3 separate regions of the Homo sapiens genome follow, and regions 1 and 2 are each linked to region 3. The links are contacts of gene promoters, found by promoter capture Hi-C in human tissues and cell types (Jung and others, 2019). All regions are on one chromosome and are shown on one strand. Each heading gives the region's core, a stretch centred on a gene start or on the middle of the fragment in contact. The rest is flanking DNA. Distances are from core to core; before and after follow the strand shown.

What was found. The method cuts DNA at HindIII sites, captures the fragments that hold promoters and counts their contacts. A contact is called where the count stands out against the background at its distance.
Region 1: the fragment with the promoter of CABP5 here is called in contact with the fragment with the promoter of SULT2B1 in region 3 in 1 of the 25 tissues and cell types used here (dorsolateral prefrontal cortex).
Region 2: a contact is called between a fragment that was not itself captured here and the fragment with the promoter of SULT2B1 in region 3, in 1 of the 25 tissues and cell types used here (dorsolateral prefrontal cortex).

Annotation. Positions count from the first base shown.
Region 1 is chr19:48,042,730-48,045,429 of GRCh38, forward strand. It overlaps CABP5 (calcium binding protein 5), which reads right to left and starts at 1,350. Exons shown (of 6, transcript NM_019855.5): 1 at 1,131-1,350. The coding sequence starts at 1,193. The HindIII fragment of the contact is 5,918 bases long and covers 1-2,700 here.
Region 2 is chr19:48,211,903-48,214,659 of GRCh38, forward strand. CARD8 (caspase recruitment domain family member 8) reads right to left here. Exons shown (of 14, transcript NM_001184900.3): 14 at 1-73. Among named protein-coding and RNA genes, the nearest start is that of CARD8-AS1, 42 kb to the right of the region's middle. The HindIII fragment of the contact is 3,277 bases long and covers 1-2,757 here.
Region 3 is chr19:48,550,915-48,553,677 of GRCh38, forward strand. SULT2B1 (sulfotransferase family 2B member 1) reads left to right here and starts at 1,258. Exons shown (of 7, transcript NM_177973.2): 1 at 1,258-1,409. The coding sequence starts at 1,339. RefSeq lists an enhancer at 678-1,202. The HindIII fragment of the contact is 26,692 bases long and covers 1-2,763 here.

The DNA.
Region 1 (2,700 bases), core at 100-2,599, 510 kb before region 3:
GCACCCGGCTAATTTTTGTATTTCTAATAGAGACAGGGTTTCACCATCTTGGCCAGGCTGGTCTTGACCTCCTGACCTCGTGATCCACCTGCTTTGGCCTCCCAAAGGGCTGGGATCACAGGCGTGAGCCACTGCCTGGCCTTTTTTATTCTCTTTTTTTGGTGATCTTAAAGCCTAACAATGAAAAGTATGCCCACATATCTGGACAAGTTGGTATATATGGAAAAATAAAAAAATTTTAAAAAGCATGCCCACAGGAATCAAGCAAACCCGACCCTGCCACTTACTTTTTTTTAACGAGACAAAGTCTCACTTTGTTGCCCAGGCTGGAGTGCAGTGGCATAATCAGGGCTCACTGCAGCCTCCACTTCCTGGGCTCAAGCGATCCTCCTGCCTCAGCCACCTGAGTAGCTGGGACTGCAGATGCATGCCACCATGCTGAGCTATTTTTTTGTATTTTTAGTAGAGATGGGGTCTTGTGTTTCCCAGGCTGGTCTCAAACTCCTGGACATAAGTGATCCTCCCGCCTCTGCCTCCCAAGATGCTGCGATTCAGGCATGAGCCACTATACTTGGCCGACCCTGCCACTTACTAACTGTGTAAGCTTAAGGCAAATGACTTCATGACTCAGAGCTTCACTTTCCTCACCTGTAAAATGGGAATGAAAGTCACTGACCTCATGAGTTGTTCTGAGGTGTAAATAACATCAGGTGTGCAAATCCCTTTGCACAGGGCTGGGCACAGAACAATGACTTAATAAGTGGCAGCTATTGTTATTAACGTCATCATTATCATCACCACCACCACCATCATCACCACCATTATCACAATGAGCATCCATAGAAAAGAATGATGGTAATCTCAACAATGACATCATCCCACTTTCCCTTTTCATTTTTCTTCCTTTTCTCTCCTTCTCTTTGCTCCTGACTTTTGATTTTACCCCCACCCATTTATCTCACTGGCTTACATGACCCCACCAGGGTCCTTGGAATTTCTTATACCTTCTCAGCTCCTGCTCTATCCACCTGTTCCCCTGGTTCTGTGGCACCATCATGTCCCCTTCTTTGTCCCACACCCCTGCTCCCTTTGCCCCGCCCACCGCCCTTCCCCCTCACTCCCCACCTCACCCGCTGTTTCTCAGCAATGCCTTTCCTCAAGAAGATGCAGGCGGGGCCCATGGGGAACTGCATGGAGGGGTGGGGTGGAGCTCGCAGGGCACCAGTCTCAAGATGGCCCCTCCTCCCTGCTCCCTGTCGGAGCTCAGCCTCCTTATCTTCTCCAGCACTCCTTTGCCACCTCTTCCTGCCTCTCTTGGCTTCTCCTTCGGTCCCGGTGTCTTAGAGCTGTGACAGCTGGGCTGGAAATCTCTACCCGGGTTGGGGAGGGACCAGAGCTGTCCCTGCCTCCCCATCTGGCTTGAATGATATGGGTGGGGAAATGCAGAGTCAGGTTCTGTGACGCCTTTATCCCCAGAGTGGAATTGGAAAGTGCATTTTATAAATGGGGATTAGAGGCTGGATGTGGTGCTCATGTCTGTAGTCCCAGCGCTTTGGGAGGCTGAGGTGGGAGGATTGCTTGAGCCCAGGAGTTTGAGACCAGCTGAGCAACATACGGAGAGGCTGTCTTTACAAAAAATAAAAAAATTAGCCGTGCATGGTGGCACACACCTGTAGTCCCAGCTGCTCCAAAGGCAGAGATGGGAGGATTGCTTGAGCCCAGGAGTTCAAGGCTGCAGTGAGCTATGATTGTACCATTGCACTCCAGGCTGCAGTGAACTACGATTGCACCATTGTACTCCAGCCTGGCTGACATAGTGAGACCCTGTCTCGAAAAAAAGAAAAAAAAAGAAAAAAAAGAAAAGAAAATGGAGGATTAGAGCAGACGGCATCATTTATTCAATGTTCCAACAAGCATGTGAAGGGTCACTCCAACACTGGCCTCTGGGCAGTGAGATGGAGAGCTCAGCACCCCTGGCCTCAGGGAGTTTTCCTGGGTGAGTCGGGAATGTGTGAGAGTGAGCAGGATGCAAGCATGGACTTCAGGAAGTGGGCGTACACGGTGACTAAGAGCATGGCATTTGCTCTTCCTCTGTTCATCTCTTTCCTTCTGTCTTTCCTGAATGATTTAGAGGGAAAAAGCAAGGTGGGGGTGTCAGGGAGGGTGTGAAGTTATGGTGGTGTCAAAGCCCAAAGGGGTTTTGCGACTCCACACTAGGTAGGGTTAGGGGAGGAGGGGGCTGGGGGCCATCTGGCGTGGAGAGCCAGCATTCCAGTGGGGTAGTGGGGTGAGGAGAAGTCCACATAGAGGGGCAGCATGACCCAGGGTGTTGGGGCTGGAGATGGTGGGGATAAATCCACAGATGGGCAGCTTGGTGTGCAGTGTTGGAACATGAGCTGAGTGGGGCGGGGGCATTTATATGCAGGCATTGTCTGGGGTGGAGGTTTGCACTGTAAGGCAATTAGGAAGGAGGCCACATAGAGGGGATCTGGCATGGGTTGTCATAACCCAAGCAGAGAGAGAAATGTCCACTCATGGGAATAGCATGGTGTATGGTGTTGAAGCCAGACTAGGCTGGGAAAGACATCCCCACAGGGGTGAAATGGCAAAGGAAAAGGGAAATTGGCTACACACAGTGAGTAAGGGGAATGGGGGCCAGGTCTCCTACTGTTGGAAAAGGGAGTTACTAAGACAGAAAGG
Region 2 (2,757 bases), core at 145-2,644, 340 kb before region 3:
TCATCGAGCACCCCTTTCAGGTCCCCCATCCTGGCTTGGAGTTGCCGGTGGTTCTCCTTCACAAAGGCTGCACCTGGATGAAAGGGGGAGTTTCAGACTTTGAGAATCGTTCACTTACAGGATTCAGGATCTATACCAAGCTTAGAGTCAAAATTCAGGGGTGGGAGATTGCTCCTTGTGTCTGTAGCTTAATTTGTGGACATACAAAATCACACACATTCACAGAGCAAATATACCCTTTGCAGTATCAAATGCATTGAGGTGTCTCAAATAATGTATCTTCCTCAGTCCTACTCCTCTCATCCATTTCTTGAAGCCTGTTTCTTCCTAGTTGGTGTTTTTCATTGAAATCCTAGACAGAGCTCTATCTTGCTGTACATACATTTATATATAAATCCCTCTAACAACGAAACACAAATCTTCTAGTTCATACATTGTCAGAAACTGTGCATGATGCTAGAGGTATGGAGAAGGATTCAGCTGGATCCCCAAAGCTTAGCTGGCAGAGCTATGAAAGAAGAGATTTAACTGGAGACATACAATGCATAGAAAAGGAAGAACAGGGGAAAAGATACAGACTTTTTTCCATCATGTAGACTCAGGGTTTACGTTGTGCCCCATATAATGTCTGTATAAACTTGGCCAAATCATATTACTTCCATATCACGTGGTTTAGAATGCATGGAGGTTGAGGTGTGATTTTGACTCAAGACATGTTCTGGACCAGCTTCCTGTAGACTGAGCTACTAAGCTTTGATTTCAACGTGCAGGCAACAGGTGCTATATTTTGCTCCACATCCTAAACATTATATTTAGGAAGGGTAGAAGCCTTTTGTTGGTGCTGCTCAGCCTGCAGTCACCACCTACAGAGATGTTCTTTGATTTATTTTAGGACGTCACCTTTATCTGATTCTTAACCAAGCTCCTTAGCTGATCCTCATTGCACCTCCAGATGTGAGGCATGATTTCTTTTTATTTAATCTGCCTCAATGGCCTTCCAGGCAACAACAGCTAGGAAATGGCATGATTGCCATCTCAGAAGGTGCTCTCTTTTTTCTCCCAGTGGTCTGTTTTGAGACATGAGTTCGGAAACTTACACTGTGTGGAGCCTGACAATGAAGCCAACAATATGGAAGGCGGGACGAAGACATGGAGAAACATTCCTCCCTTGTGATGTTGTTTGAGCCCATGAATCAGCCTCCCTGGAGTCAGTCCCACATCTCTTCCTTGAACTCGCCTGAGCCATGACACTCTTGATAATTTCACTCCATTTAAGTTGGACTTTCTGTCATTTGCCACACAAGACTTTACACAGATCCAGAGGACATTGCAGATTGCTGCCTTGGGTGATTTTTAAAATTAACGTGGACATGAAGTCATCAGGAGACAAGGAGTTCCAAACCTGGATTTATTGCTTACTAGATGATGGAAACTTGGTCCTCTCAGTGTTAACTCTATTTTATTTATTTACTTATTTATTTATTTATTTTGAGACAAAGTCTCACTCTTGTCCCCAGGCTGGAGTGCGATGGCACGATCTCGGCTTACTGCAATCTCCGCCCCTGGGTTCAAGCGATTCTCCTGCCTCAGCCCCCCGAGTAGCTGGGATCACAGGCATGTGCCACCACGCCCAGCTAGTTTTTGTATTTTTAGTAGAGGCAGGGTTTCACCATGTTGGCCAGGCTGGTCTCAAACTCCTGACCTCAGGTGATCCACCTGCCTCGGCCTCCCAAAGTGTTGGGATTACAAGTGTGAGCCACTGCACCCAGCCAACTCTTTATATTAAATAATGTAAATAATTTTTTCTCTGCTATATACTAATTCCAGTGTCCTTAACAGATCCTTGGCTGATATCTGCTCTTCACTTTTACAACAGCCCCACCGTTCCCCACTTCCTATTCATTCCCAACCCACACTCAATCATCCACGCTGTTTTGAAGAGCCAACACATTGTTATCCATCCTTTAATAGTTACTCTTGCCTTTCCGTCTAAAGTCCAAAATATTTCAACTTTTATTCTTGGACTTTCAACTGCCAGCTCTTGACTATCCTTCTCATGTCACCTTTACTCTGTCCCTCTAACAGTTTAATTCACAGCCATATCAAACTACTTTAACTTAGAGTTCCCCAGACGCAAGATATTAAATATTTACCCCCAATAATTTGCTGTTGTATGCTCTTTTGTGTCTACATGATGTCCTCACGCCCTTCTGGGACTAAATCATACTCATTGTCTGTATTTATGACATCAGTCATTCTTGGCAGATGACAAGGATGGAAGGAATGGAGCCTTGCTGAGAGATGCTGTTACAGCAGGCAGCTCGTCAGATATGAGCAGGGCAGGAGAGGACTCCTCACCCCACCAGAAATGTCAGGCAACCATCAGGTGATGGTCAGGCAGTTGTTACACCGTCTCTCTAAAATAATAATTGGTTGCAGCCGGCACCAGGGAAAGGCCGTCTCCTGACAGAGAGAAAACACCTGAAACTGGTGATCAGCAGCTTCCCAATAAGATCTCGGGAACTGGGCCAGTGGGCTCAAGAATGTGCATTAAGAGCAGAGTTTAACTGGCCTATAACCTCTTACGGAGGTTGAGCTGGTAAGGGAAGAATGCCTCAAGTGAGCATGCGTATGACTCCAAGAAACACACTGCGCATGCTCCCCTTCCAAGCCCCTGCGGGCCACTATGCAGGCGACCAGCCCACCCCAGGGGAAGAATCAGGGAAGAAGGGATGCAAGACCCCGGAAGTGTGCCAA
Region 3 (2,763 bases), core at 8-2,507:
GGAGTCTCTCTCTGTCGCCCAGGCTGCAGTGCAGTGATGTGATCTCAGCTCACTCCAACCTCCACCTCCCAGGTTCAAGCGATTCTCGTGTCTCAGCCTCCCAAGTAGCTGGGATTACAGGCACCTGCCACCACTGGTGGGGAGACTGGCTTCATGACTCCAGGACTCTGAGGGGTCAGGGACCAACAGCTGGGGAGGGCCAGGGTTTGGGGTGGGGGCAGAAGAGAAGAGAACACCGTCTATGCTGAGCTCACTGTGTACCAGATCCTCCACCAGCAGCTGAGAGTGTCTCCCTCAGTCCTCACAACAGCCCGATGGGTGCCATTCACAGATGGGGAAACTAAGGCAAGATGAGCCTATGAGCAAGATGGTTCCCGGCCCCACAGCTGGGAGGCACTGGAGCTGGGATTTGAACCAGGGCTGTGACCTTCAGACTCTCACGCCCAACCATATCTGGCAGTTGTCTCTCATATCTGTGTCTCTCCCTGTCCCTGACCTTTCTATGTATCTCTGTCTCTGCCCTCTGTATATCGCTGCTGGGTCTCTCAGGGTCTCTGACCCCTGTGTGTCTCTGTCTCCTCTGGGTGTCCGTGTGTCTCTGTCTCCGCCCTCCGTGTATCTCTGTTGCGTCTCTCAAGGTCTCTGGCCCCTGTGCATCTCAGTCCCCTCCTGGTCTCTGTCTCCCATGCCCTCTGCCCTCTCCCTTTCTCCCTGGCTCCCGCCCTGTCTGTGCTGCCGTGGTCCTGGCTGTGCCTCTGTCCCTGTGTCTGTTTCCAGGGTGCCCCTTACGCGTCAGCCCGTGAGGGCAAGTTTCTGTCTGCCCCTTCCCCAGCGGTGGCCTAGTGCTTGGAACAGCGCCTGGCAGACAGGAGATGCTCAGTAAATATTTCTCAAATGAATAAAGGAATGAATGAGTGAATGAATGAATGAATGAATGAACTCGCTGAGATGGGCGAGATCAGCGCCATTTCCCAAATGAGCAACGTGGGCTCCAGGTGGGTGCCCACAGGCCCAGAACTGCCAGCCCGGAAGGTTCTGGCGTGGGCTTGGCACTGACCCCCTGGACTCTGCCCCCAGCTGAGCACCAGACGCCAGGACGTGCCCATCACTGCTCCTCCCCGCCCTCAGAGCAGGGTGGCTCCCTCTGGCCTCTCCCCGCTGTTGGAGGCGTGGGTAGCAGCTGGGAGAACCGGCTGGGTGCTGCCCCTCCCCTTGGGCCGGGCACGGAGTAGGCACCTGGCGGGCTCCCCAGGTGGCAGACGCTGTCGCTGCGCACACCTGGCCTCTGTGCCGCCTGCTCCCTGCTCGTCCTCCCCTCCCCACCCTCACCCACCTGCCATGGACGGGCCCGCCGAGCCCCAGATCCCGGGCTTGTGGGACACCTATGAAGATGACATCTCGGAAATCAGGTGAGGCCCAGACCTGGGCAGGAGCCAGGAGATCCCAGGGAGGAGGTGGCTGTTTGGGGGAGCCGGGGACTGTGGCAAGGGTGGCCTCCAGCCACCCGCAGCCGCAGGCCTGGCCCAGACTTAGCTGGAGGGGCTGGGCTGGGCTGGGGCATCCAGTGTGGTGTATAGGTCCCTCCTGAGAAGGGAGTGAGGACCCGACCGTGTTGAGTCACCAGTGGGGATGCCTGGGGTGTCCCTGTCGCTCTCCGGGCCTCAGTTTTTCTGTCTGTCAAAGGGGCCCACAAGCCCTGTGTCTCCCTGATAGAGCAGTGGAAGAGAGCAGGCAGCTTGGTGCATAGTAGTTGCTCAGGAAACACAACAGCCTGTAGTACCCAGGACACCCCATGCAAGCCCTGAAATAACGGGGGTGCTTGGGGGTGAAATGGGAGAGACTGGGATGCTGCTGAGACCCCCAGAGGGAGAAGCTGTGTTCTAGGGCACTTGGGGCGGAGAGGGCAGGCTCTGGACTCTTCAGGTCTCCTAACAGTGGTTAGGGCAGAGCACTGCCCACTTCCATGAGCTCAGCGTGACTCCCTCTTCCTGGGGATGAGTCAGACACTTTGACAGTACCTGCTTTCCAGATGGGGAAACTGAGGCTGGGAGGGAACGCGACATGACCGCAATTACGCAGCTAGAAGCAAATCTGAACCCGGTCTGTCTCACGCCAGAGCCTGTGGTTTCTCCTGCTCCTCACAGCCTTGGTGATGTCCCCTTTACACCCCTCCCCGTGGCTCCATCTTTTAGGGGAGCGCAGAGGCCCAGAGAGGGCAGGCAGCCTGCCCCAGATCACACAGCAAACTGCTGAGACAATCTCCAACCCCTCGTATCTTGCACTCTTGCCAAGTGAGACCTTCCTGGCAGCCTGGGCCCCTCCAGCCACCGTGGGCTGTGAGGAGGGAGACAACCAAGACCTGTTCTCAGCCCAGTTGCCTCATTCCTTTCTTATTTTATTTTATTTTTTTGAAATGGAGTTTCGCTCTTGTTGCCCAGGCTGGAGTGCAATGGCACGATATCAGCTCACTGCAGCCTCCGCGTCCTGGGTTCAAGTGATTCTCCAGCCTCAGCTTCCCAAGTAACTGGGATTACAGGAGCCCGCCACCATGCCCGGCTAATTTTATTTTTGTATTTTTAGTAGAGAAAGGGTTTCACCATGTCGGCCAGGCTGTTCTTGAACTCCTTGCCTCAGGTGATCCACCTGCCTCGGCCTCCCAAAGTGCTGGGATTACAGGCGTGGGCCACCACGCCTGGCCGCCTCATTTCATTCCACTGTTTCAGGCCCTCCCCTCCCCTCCCTCAGCCAGAAGCTGGGGCATGA